3 separate regions of the Homo sapiens genome follow, and regions 2 and 3 are each linked to region 1. Evidence: promoter capture Hi-C in human tissues and cell types (Jung and others, 2019). All regions are on one chromosome and are shown on one strand. The core of a region is centred on a gene start or on the middle of the fragment in contact, and the rest is flanking DNA. Distances in the headings are between cores, read along the strand shown. Region 1 holds the start of HGSNAT (heparan-alpha-glucosaminide N-acetyltransferase). Region 2 has its middle 140 kb from the start of POTEA. Region 3 has its middle 160 kb from the start of POTEA.

The links. The method cuts DNA at HindIII sites, captures the fragments that hold promoters and counts their contacts. A contact is called where the count stands out against the background at its distance.
Region 2: a fragment that was not itself captured here is called in contact with the fragment with the promoter of HGSNAT in region 1 in 1 of the 25 tissues and cell types used here (mesenchymal stem cells).
Region 3: a fragment that was not itself captured here is called in contact with the fragment with the promoter of HGSNAT in region 1 in 1 of the 25 tissues and cell types used here (hippocampus).

The regions. Positions count from the first base shown.
Region 1 is chr8:43,138,360-43,142,292 of GRCh38, reverse strand. It overlaps HGSNAT (heparan-alpha-glucosaminide N-acetyltransferase), which reads right to left and starts at 1,829. Exons shown (of 18, transcript NM_152419.3): 1 at 1,679-1,829. The coding sequence starts at 1,796. RefSeq lists silencers at 850-1,229, 1,240-2,029 and an enhancer at 2,873-3,167. The HindIII fragment of the contact is 19,681 bases long and covers 1-3,933 here.
Region 2 is chr8:43,428,646-43,432,073 of GRCh38, reverse strand. No RefSeq gene overlaps it. Among named protein-coding and RNA genes, the nearest start is that of POTEA, 140 kb to the right of the region's middle. The HindIII fragment of the contact is 7,456 bases long and covers 1-3,428 here.
Region 3 is chr8:43,449,388-43,453,252 of GRCh38, reverse strand. It overlaps the pseudogene LOC100420534. Among named protein-coding and RNA genes, the nearest start is that of POTEA, 160 kb to the right of the region's middle. The HindIII fragment of the contact is 5,741 bases long and covers 1-3,865 here.

The sequences.
Region 1 (3,933 bases), core at 580-3,079:
AAAAGAACAATTATTTCCTTCTCTCTCCTCTGGTCTACCTCGTCTTGGTGGGCAAATTACCAAATAAAGTCACCTTCCAATGGTGCGGGGATAAATGTGCTGCTTGTGTATTACACCTTTATTTCCTTTCCAAATATTTAATTTCTGGTCTAGCTCTCTGCTCGTGAGTTATCTTTGCTGGGCATATTTTTAAAGACATAGTCTACTTTTTTTTTTCTTCAAGCAAATGCTGAATTTTCAAAAAGAAGGAAGATGATGACGTTTTTAGTAGGAAAGCTGTGCGGCCCAAACATGGGCTCCAGGTGACAGGGAAAGCCTTGCGGTCCCAACGCGGCTTCCCCTCACTACGTGTGATTACTATTTACAAACCACCTCTCTCTAAAAGTAAGTGCCCTTTGATAAGCTAATACTGGCGCTAAAATGCAAAGAGTGTTCGGCGGGATCAGTCCCTGACAAATTGTGATCAGGCAGATTACATAACCTCCCCGGGGTCCTTGCAATTTTAAAGGAGGGGAGCGCAGGAGATGAAGGTTGGGTGGATCAAGGATCGCACAAAATGTAATCCTCTGAGCCGCTTTTCCAAAATTCACAACGCCTTTCTCCTCCAGCTTCTGCTTGGAGAGGAGGGGTCGTTTGAACTCCATACACAGACACTAAAACTTCGTATTCTGACCAAGAAAAGGGCGCGAGAGGGGAAAGACAGGTGACTCCCACCGTCCCTCCTACCCAAAGGGGTTTGCGATGCTTGCCCGACCCCTCTGGGAGGGGCGTGTGCGAAGGACCTAGGGCCTGGGGCTCCCCGGTGCAGGGGTCTAGATGGAGACCTGGAATCTGTATTTGTCACCGTTTTCCCCACCGAGTTCGGAGAGCAAGCCAGTTGTGCAATCACGGTATGAGCTGAGCGCCTCTTAAGCCAGCGCACCGGACAAACGCCCGGGGTCCGGGGCCCGGGGCAAAAGCGCCCAGCCCGGCCCCTCCCAGGCGGCGGCGGCGGCGGCGGCGGCTTCCCAGTCACCCTGGAGGGAAAACGCGCCGAGGGGAGACGCGCGGAGGGCTCGCCCGGGACCGGGCTGCAGGCCGCGCCCCCACCGCCTTCTCCGCGGTTCCTCACCCGCCGCACATCCACGCAGGTTCAACCCCAGCGCGGGGCGAACGCGCGTCCCGGCCCCAGGCTTCCCACCCGCTGAAGCCAATGGGTCGCACGGCTCCGGCGCCACGTCCTCGGGGGCGAGGCCCTCAGGGAAGGGACCCTGCTCTAAGTCCCTCCGAACAGTGGACTGGGTGCAGGGGGAGTCCGAGCCCCCCCGATCCTCGGCTGGCCCGCCTCCTGGCTGCCAGTTTGTGGGGTCCCGGCGTCCCGATCCGCGGCCTCTGTTTAGACGGAAGGCGCCAGGACGCAGGCTCCGCTGGGGTGGGCGCCGCCTGGGCGCCCAGGTTCCACTCCGCCGCGGTCCGAACCGCCCCCTCCCCCGCCTCCGCGGGGCCCGGCCGCAGCACCCCGAAGTCCGGCCTCCGGTCTGGGGCGCGGGACCGCGAAGTCGCAGCAACAGCCCAGGCCACGGGGGCGGTTCCGGCCCGGCCTAGCGCTCGGCGCCGCGCACGGAGATAGGGGCGGCGCCGCGGAGAGGAGACGCTGCGCTCGTAGCCGGCCGGGCGGCGGTAGGAGGTGTGCACTCACCTCGTGGCGGCGCGGCCTGGGCATCGCGCCCCGAAGAGCCGCCGGGGGCCAGCAGCGCGGCGCTCAGCACGGACGCGGCCAGCAGCAGCGCGGCCAGCGCCCTGCCCGCCCCGCTCATGCCCGCCGCCCGCTCGGCCGCCCTTGCCTGCCCGCTGCGCCCCGCCCTGCGCTGCTCCGCCGCGGACGCCCGCGCGCCCGTCATCGCCCCCTCCGCTGCCGTCACCGCCGCCTGAGTCACCGCGGGAGGCGGAGGCGCCCGGGAGCCGCGGGCGGGGGAACCTAGGGGCTGGGCCGGGCCATGCTAGGCCCTGCCTTGAGGGAGCTGGCCAGGAAAGAAGCCGAGGCTCTGCGCCCCTGCGTTGGGAGTGTTTGTCTTCGGGAGGAAAAACAGCCGGAAGAGAGGCCCCTGCAGGCCAGGAGCCTTCTTCCCTCGCCCCACCTTCTCCAGCCGCATTCTGCCAAACTCCCGCCCCCGCCGGCCACCCTCCGCACGGGTGTTAGAGCCCTCGGTCCCTGTTTTGGAAAACGCCTCAATAAGCAAGACTGCAAAGTCCCTGCCCCCAAGGCGTTTATTACCCAGAGGGAGAGGCACGACTTAGAAGCCACCAAGCGGCCCCACCTCTTGAAAGAGCCCCCGGCCAGGCTGACGAAGTGGAAGGGAGCAGGTCGAGGAGTGTGCACACCCATTCTTGGCTGTATGCCGGGAGACACTATCGCAGGTATAAGGGACAGGTACAGTAATACCTATAGCAGAGGTGCTTGTAATTGCAAAACCTTGTCAACAAGCTGAATGTCCGCCAGCGAGAAAACAAACTGCCCCACAGCAGGGGAAGTGCTCTACAGCTTCCCGCATCCACATGGATAAATCTCAAAACACAAGGCTGGGGAAAATGCAAATTGCAGAATGCCTTTTTAATATATAAAGCAAAACAATAATGTATGTTGTTTAGGGACATCCATATATGTAATAAAAATACAAAGGCACACATGAAAATGTTGCGGGACTTTTCCTTAGTTCAGCTAAAGACGGTGGAGGTCCTTGTCACACGCCAGGAAAGATTAGGCTCGCAGACAATTTGAAGGGTAAGGCAGGGTTTTATTGGGTGTAAAGGAAGAAAAAGGGGAACAGGGACTCAGCAGAGCCAGAGTTCTCCTAGTTGTAGGCTTCCCACCTCACAGATTAAATCCCAGGTTCTCCCGAGGAAGAGGAGGGCCAGGCTCCTCCCAGCTGCAAACTGAGGAGCGAACTTCTGTGGCTCCACCCCAGAGCAGTGCACAGGCCAGTTGGAGTTTTACCAGGGAACCCTTCCCATCTGGCTCATTCCTCGCTCTAAAGAAGTCTATCTAACTGCCACTAGGATAAGAATAGGGACAAAGACAGATCTTAACTGCTTCCTGCTGATAGGGGGCACTGTTTCGGGAAAATGGCAATCAGATCTCCCTCAGAGGCCTATCTAAGGGTGCCCAGCAGAAGGGGCCATGGTCCGAGCTTCCAGTAGCATGACCGTTTGATGTCCTGAAGGCAAGAAGAGACAAACTGGGTTATTAAACACATATGGCCGGGCACAGTGGCTCACGCCTGTAATCCCAGCACTTTGGGAGGCCAAGGCAGGTGGATCACGAGGTCAAGAAATCGAGACCATCCTGGCCAACATGGTGAAACCCTGTCACTACTAAAAATACAAAAAATTAGCCGGGCGTCATGGCAAGTACCTGTAGTCCCAGCTACTTGGGAGGCTGAGGCAGGAGAATCACTTGAATCCGGGAGGCAGAGTTTGCAGTGAGCCAAGATTATGCCACTGCACTCCAGCCTGGCAGGTCAGGAGTTCAAGACCAGCCTGGCCAACATGGTGAAACCCTGTCTCTACTAAAAATACAAAAATTAGCCAGCAGTGGTGGTGCCTGCCTGTACTCCCAGCTACTTAGGAGGTTGAGGCAGGAGAATCGTTTGAACGGAGGTTGCAGTGAGCCAAGACCACATCACTGCACTCCAGCCTGGGCGACAGAGTGAGACCCTGTCTCAAAAAAAAAAAGAAAAGAAAAGAAACAAGGGGAGGGATAAGGACAGCTCAAAAATCCTGAGGCTTTTTACCAATTTGTACACGGAGAAGGGGGCCAAAAGTCCGAATGGTAAACAACTTTACCCTTTTGCTGGCATGTTGGGCTTCTGGGTTCCCTTCCCCTGAAACCAATCCTAAGCCAGCCAGTTTAAGGTTTAGGAAATTAACTCTTTCCAGTTTGGAAAATGCATCTGA
Region 2 (3,428 bases), core at 539-3,038, 290 kb before region 1:
ATTTTGCAATGCTTGCAAAGGTCTAGAAAGAATGCCATCCCCTTGTGCAAAGAAAAATGAGCTGCTTTTTTCTTCAAAGTTTTGGGGTTAAATGAGTCCCAGTGCTTTAGAATACACTTGAGAGGAGTACAGGCCAAAGATGGTCTGTTACCCATCTAGAAAGAGAACTGAGAATAAAAGGATCCTTTCCTTGGGATGGCCCAGGGTGGAGGGGAAGACAGTGGGGGCATTCCCCCTACTGTTTTCTCTCTTTGGTTCCTGGGCTCCTGGCACCTTGTTAAACATGCTACCCATGGTTGCAGGCATGATTCCCCAGCCATGGAACCAGAGGAATTAAGTGATGAGTTTAGTCATGTGTACCCATGCAGCCCTAGTTCTCTGTTTTTGATTACCCTGACTTCCTAGACTTGTATGATCTTCATGGCTCCCTGAAAAATGGATCTCAGGAAAGACTATGTAATAGTTGAATTTGGGCATGGCCCCTTTAATGGAGGGGGTGTACAAGATTGAACTCTATATCCTGCTATTGTGGGTCGTGCTAAAGGATTTACCCCTAGAGAATGGTAGTGGTTAACTTCTGGACTTAAAATTCCCTTACTATTTAAGTATTGTCTTAACTGCAAGCAGGATTGGTGTGTTAAAAGAACATAGGGATCAAATGGTGGTTTTCCTGCTGATGGGACAGTGTTCAGACTAAAACAGTTTCAGAGGACATTTTCCTCCTGATCTTTCATGGCATAGTTTTTCCCATTTACAGAAAGCCATAAACCCTGGAATCTGGTAGAGGGGCACAAAAAGGGAGAATTGGGAAGCTGGAGTGTCTCAGCAAAGGACCAACACTGAGACTCATGGTAAGGATACTCCACTAGTTGACGCTGCTGACCTAGAAATACCATATGCTTGCCAGAGGAAGGGTAGAAACACTCGCTGGGGGAGACCTCTGCTTCTAGAAAGTTACAAAAGTGGCATTCCCTTGAGCTATATTTGTAGTTACTATAGCATTTTTTGATCTTTCCTAACAGGACTATTTCTCTGAACTGTAAAAATTCCCATGATATTGCATACAGAGAGAGGAGACATGATGGTGGTGGATAGGAAAGGAGAACATTCTGCAATAGAAAAGCTGGAGATTCTGTTGCTGATCCAATTGAGCAGCTGGAGGCTGAGTTCAGTCCCAAAGCTTTTGAATTACATCAAGGTTTAGCCCTGGCCAGAAATTGTCAGTTGCCCTAGGACTTCTTCAAGCCCCATGAGATGGCTAGTTCCTCCATGAAGGAAAATTGGTTTGAAACATAACCAATAAGCCCAGCAACCTGAGGGCACTAGTGGATTCACTATCATGACAGCCCAACAAGCCTGTCATCTGAGCCTTGAGAAGCATGGCTCACACTAGAGGTATCTAGGTGGCCATCAGACACACAGTATATGGTTTGATTTGACTTTAAAATGGAGGTTAAGGGCCAGGTGTGGTGGCTCACACCTCATCCCAGAACTTTGGTGCCAGCCTGCCCAATATGGCAAAACCCCATCTCTACTAAAAATACAAAAATTAGCCAGGTGTGGTGGCATGTGTCATAATTCCAGCTACTTAGGAGGCTGAGAAATGAGAATCACCTAAACCTGGGAGGTGGTGGTTGCAGTGAACCAAGATAATGCCACTGCACTCCAGCCTGAGTGATACAGTGAGACTCTGTCTCAAAAAAATAAAATAATTAAATAATTAAAATGGAGGCTGAGAGCCCTGAAATAAAAGGACAGAGTTGAGGTCCACTCCTATACTCACCCTTTTGATAATCCTGGACAAGCCCCCACAATGAAGCTGCCTCATTTGTCTGGGGTAATACACAAGGTTCATTGCCTCACACCGAGGAAATCAAGGACACAGACACAGACAAAAGGAGTGGGTTTAAGAGCAGAAGTTTAATAAGTGAAACAAAGAAGAGAGCTTTCTGGTGCAGAGGAAGAGATCCCAAATGGTTTCCAGGTTCATAGCAAGATGCAGTTGGTTTATAGATGAGCTTGAGGAAGTCATGTCTGCCTTATATAGGGCACAGAGGATTGGTTAAACCAGGTGTGCCCTTTATATAGTACGTGAAGAGGCTGGCCACCCCACCCTGATCTTTTATTATGCAAATTGGGTCTCTAACAGGCTGTCACTATGTTGCCTTCTTTTATAAATATGTATAGATACATACACATACTTTTTTTTCTTTTTATTATACTTTAAGTTCTAGGGTACATGAGCACAACGTGCAGGTTTGCTACATATGTATACATGTGCCACATTGGTGTGCTGTACCCATTAACTCCTCATTTAAATTAGGTATATCTGCTAATGCTATCCCTCCCCCATTCCCCCACCCCAAAACAGGCACCAGTGTGTGATGTTCCCCTTCCTGTGTCCATGTGTTCTCATTGTTCATTTACCACCTAAGAGTAAGAACATGCAGTGTTTGGCTTTTTGTCCTTGTGAGAGTTTGCTGAGAATGATGGTTTCCAGCTTCATCCATGTCCCTACAAAGGACATTAACACATCCTTTTTTATGGCTGCATAGTATTCCACGGTGTATGTGTGCCACATTTTCTTAATCCAGTCTATCATTGTTGGACATTTGGGTTGGTTCCAAGTCTTTGCTATTGTGAATAGTGCTGCAATAAACATATGGGTGCATGTGTCTTTATAGCAGCATGATTTATATTCCTTTGGGTTTATACCAAGTAATGTGGTGGCTGGGTCAAATGGTATTTCTAGTTCTAGATCCCTGAGGAATCGCCACATTGTCTTCCACAATGGTTTAACTAGTTTATAGTCCCACCAACAGTGTAAAAGTGTTCCTATTTCTCCACATCCTCTCCAGCACCTGTTATTTCCTGACTTTTTAATGATTGCCATTCTAACTGGTGTGAGATGATATCACATTGTGGTTTTGATTTGCATTTCTCTGACGGCCAGTAACGATGAGCATTTTTTCATATGTCTGTTGGCTGCATAAATGTCTTCTTTTGAGAAGTGTCTGTTCATGTCCTTTACCCACTTTTTGATGGGGTTCTTTGTTTTTTTCTTGTAAATTTATTGGAGTTCATTGTAGATTCTGGATATTAGCCCTTTGTCAGATGAGTAGATTGCAAAACTTTTCTCCCATTCTGTAGGTTGCCTGTTCACTCTGATGGTAGTTTCTTTTGCTGTGCAAAAGCTCTTAGTTTAATTAGATCTCATTTGTCAATTTTGACTTTCATTGCCATTGCTTTTGTTGTTTTAGACATGAAGTCCTTGCCCATGCCTGTGTCCTGAATGGTAATGCCTAGGTTTTCTTCTAGGGTTTTTATGGTTTTAGGTCTAACATGTAAGTCTTCAATCCATCCTGAATTAATTTTTGTATAAGGTATAAGGAAGGGATCCAGTTTCAGCTTTCTACATATGGCTAGCC
Region 3 (3,865 bases), core at 1,185-3,684, 310 kb before region 1:
ATTATATGTATTAGGGTTACTCGTAATGTTTGTTTTGTTCAAAAAAAGCATCAAACCTTAGTACTATAGCATGCTGCCACTAACAACTTTAAAGCTGGAACCCAGTCTTATACATTTCTTATTGCCACTATATTGTTCATATACATTGACCTATTAGCAGATTTTCTAAGAAAGGATCAGAAGCCCTGGGCCCCAGTGACCCAGGTCAGAGGCTACTTTTACTTTAGCTGCTCTGGGCTTCAGGAACACTCTTGCCCCAGCATCTTCACAGACATGTGTCTGTTTCTCTTGAAAACCAACCTAATTATTCACAAAAACCAATCCAATTATTCACAATACCTGAGGCATTCTCCCCAGTGTCACATCTCACTGAAACCTCTCCCAAGAGAAAAGTGATTTTTTCTCCAAATATTATACAACAATTTTCAATCGGAAATTGTATAATCAGCAATACTGTACAAAAAAAGAACAAATGAAGTATTACTTTTCACATTAGGTTTATAAATCCCTTTTCATTTATGAATCCTAATTTTAACAGCAAAAAAAGCAAATGTACTCAAAAGAAATTATATCTGTTTAAAAGTACATGAAACACTTTCCCCAAAAAAATCTATGATACTCTCAAAGGTAGTTTGCGCATACAAATTTAATTAGTGGACTAAAGTTTTTACTTCTGGCCTTGGCTTAATGCTACAATTTTATACCAGTGACTCTGTCTTTAAAATTTGGATATAAGTGTTCTCCATAGGATGTTTGGGGTAAACAAATACACTGTGTTATTAATGTTTATAAAGCATCATTAGACAAAGGCTTATGAAAAGTATTCCTTATATAAAGGGCAGGTTGTCATAAACTTGGGAGGAGGGCTCATCTGTGGGTGCATCGTGAAAAAGAAAGACAGCTAGGAAAAAAACTTGTATTTTCCCTGTCTAGTCTCTACCCATGCATGCATTGGACTGACTGGTCTACCCCTGTGTAGCATTTCACTAGACTCCCTAACTAGTGGCACCTGGGGGAGAGGTCAGAGATTACTAGGGACATTGTGTGCCTCCACTGAGATGCACTGGAACCTTTCTGTAGTTTCTGTGCTCCAGGACTGGGGCCAAGGGGCAGGAGAAACGTTGAGAGCAAAGGCAACTGATATCTCCAAGCCCCTTATTAACTGTCAGGCACTGCAAAACTGTGATTTCAAGTAACTACTCTATTATCACCAACCCCATTTTTTTTTCAGATAACACTTTAGGTCAATGTAACGAATGATGCCCAAGATTGTACGCCTGGCAAGAAGTGGGACTGAGAATTGAATCTGGGCTGGCCTAACTCCAAAGTTCTCTTGTTTTTTGAATCTGAAAACTCATATCAACTGTTTTATCACTTTATGATTAATTTACTCTTAGTGTTTAGACTCCTTAAAGGGAAGAAAGAAGCAACCTGATTGTGATCACTTTTCTACTTAACAAATCACTTTCCTATAGTTTATCAGTAAAATCAAATTTATAAGAAGTATGTGTACTTAAGTTATGTAAGAAATCATCTTTCAGAATTGATACTCTGGATTTCAGTTTCAAAATGGGGGCTCAGTCCCCCAAGGCATAAAAGTGAAAAACTTTATTACCTTTCTTTTAAATTCATCTTTTAGTTCTTGGATGGAGGAGGTAGGAGACCAAATAATGCTTGAAGTGACACATACCACTAAATTATATGCATTCATGTGATTGATTGAGGATTGTTGCTCAATATTGTGTAATATACCAAAGAGATACCTTAGGCTAACAACATTGGCACTCAGAAGCTGGTCTCATAGCGTAAAGAAAGAAAAATGCACTCTTTAAGCAAGACATTGTATTTAAAAACTTGCAAAGGCATGCAATTTTCACTTTGCATGGGGAAGAGTGCAAATCAACAACATGGTTCATATATGCAGAAGTTTCAGTTAACATGATACCACACAAGTGAGGACTGTCTGGACAGAAAGAAAAAATAAGCACTGGGAATTTTTTTGTTTTTGTACACTGTCTTCACAACTCAAAAATGTAAAATAATGCAGAAAATGCCTCATAAAAATGATGCCTGAAATATTTCCCTGAAACTAGTACAATGCATTTAAACTTAGGTCAACCCTTTAACATTTCAGAATATTAACAACTAAAACCCACAAAAAGCTTTCTGATCAAATTAGACAGCAATGAAATTTAAAGTATACCTTTATTTCCAAGCAGTAACCCAGAAATGCTGTCTTGGAAAGAATCAAAACCTTAAGGTCAATTTTGTCCTAAATCTGTCTCATTGTACCATTTTCACATATGAGTTGCTTATAGTATTATATTTTCTACAGTTCTCATTTTGTAGTTGATAAGAGATTTTGAAATGGTCACTCACCAAAAATGATTACTACTATTTAAACATATATATGTATATGTGCTTGTGTGTGTGTGTATATATATATATATATATGCTTGTGTGTGTATGTGTGTGTGTGTGCATGCTGATATTGATGACTGTTCTTTTTTTCAATAAAAACCTGCAAGCTAGGGCAAACAAGGTAGTCTGAATAATGCTCCACAAATAGCAGGCAGGTCTTTTGCAATACAATGGACTAACAATGAATATAGTTTTTGTAAGGATAAATTATGAAAGACTTTTAAATAGAACAAAAAAATTACTGGGTGTATTCAATGGAAAATAAGACATCTAGCATAAGCGTCTGGGTTATCTGCTTCTACGGGGCCCCAAGCTTCTTCACAAGAAGAGTTATTTTGTAACTTTACAAGTTATAAATAACTGACAGCAGCCCATCTAACACTGGTCTAATGATGTGAAAAGTATGTCTGGTGGAGAGACAAGTGATTTAGCCGCATGTACCCCTGCCCTGGTAGAAAAGGCCAGTTTTGTTTGTATCAATTTGTAAATTTACTTTAGCATTTTTTGTTTGTTTGTTTGTTTGTTTGGGGAGTTTGTTTTTTTTTGTTTTTTTTTTTTTTGAGATGGAATTTCACTCTATCACCCAGGCTGGAGTGCAGTGGCATGATGTTGACTCACTGCAGCCTCCCGGGTCCAAGCAATTCTCTAACCTCAGCTTCCCAAGTAGCTGAGATTACAGGCAGGCACCGCCATGCCCAGCTAATTTTTGTATTTTTTGTAGAGATAGGGTTTCACCATGTAGGCCAGGCTAGTCTTGAACTCCTGACCTCAGGTGATCCGCCCACCTCAGCCTCCCAAAGTGCTGGGATTACAGGCGTGAGCCACCGTGCCTGGCCCCACATTTTAGCACTTCTGATTCAACTATATATATAATATTTCAACTTTGAAGTCTCCTTTGAACTGGTTGTAACATCTTACTGGTTCCCTCATAAATGACTTAAATAAAATCTTTCATGTGTTTATTTTACATTTGTATGAGAGTCATAATTTTACTTTAAAAAATCCTTTAACAGCTTATAGGATATATAAGGTTTTAGACAATTAGAAATAAAGTATAGAATTTGATGCTCACTATCTGAATGACTTACGCCAAACTATAATGTAAGTGAAGATAGTGTTTTGATAAATGCCCTTGGTTTCTGGTGTCCTCAGCAGCTGTACTATGTTCTCCTATTGGTGAAAGATGTAGATAATTCATATTTGAAAATTGCTCAAGAAAAAAAACACACAGTACTAAATAAGAACATGCAAGTGAAAAATATTGAGTTTTCATAGAACTAGAAGTATTGCTTTTTGTTAATGGATATTTCTTTCCTATTCTTTTATAATGCAGGAAATATTTAGGCATGGGGTCCTGAGTTCTACCAGCATTTTTGTTTTTTTGCATGAGTAGAGAGAGTAGCAATCCCCCTTTTCCTTGACACTTTTTAAGTAGCTAACTGCC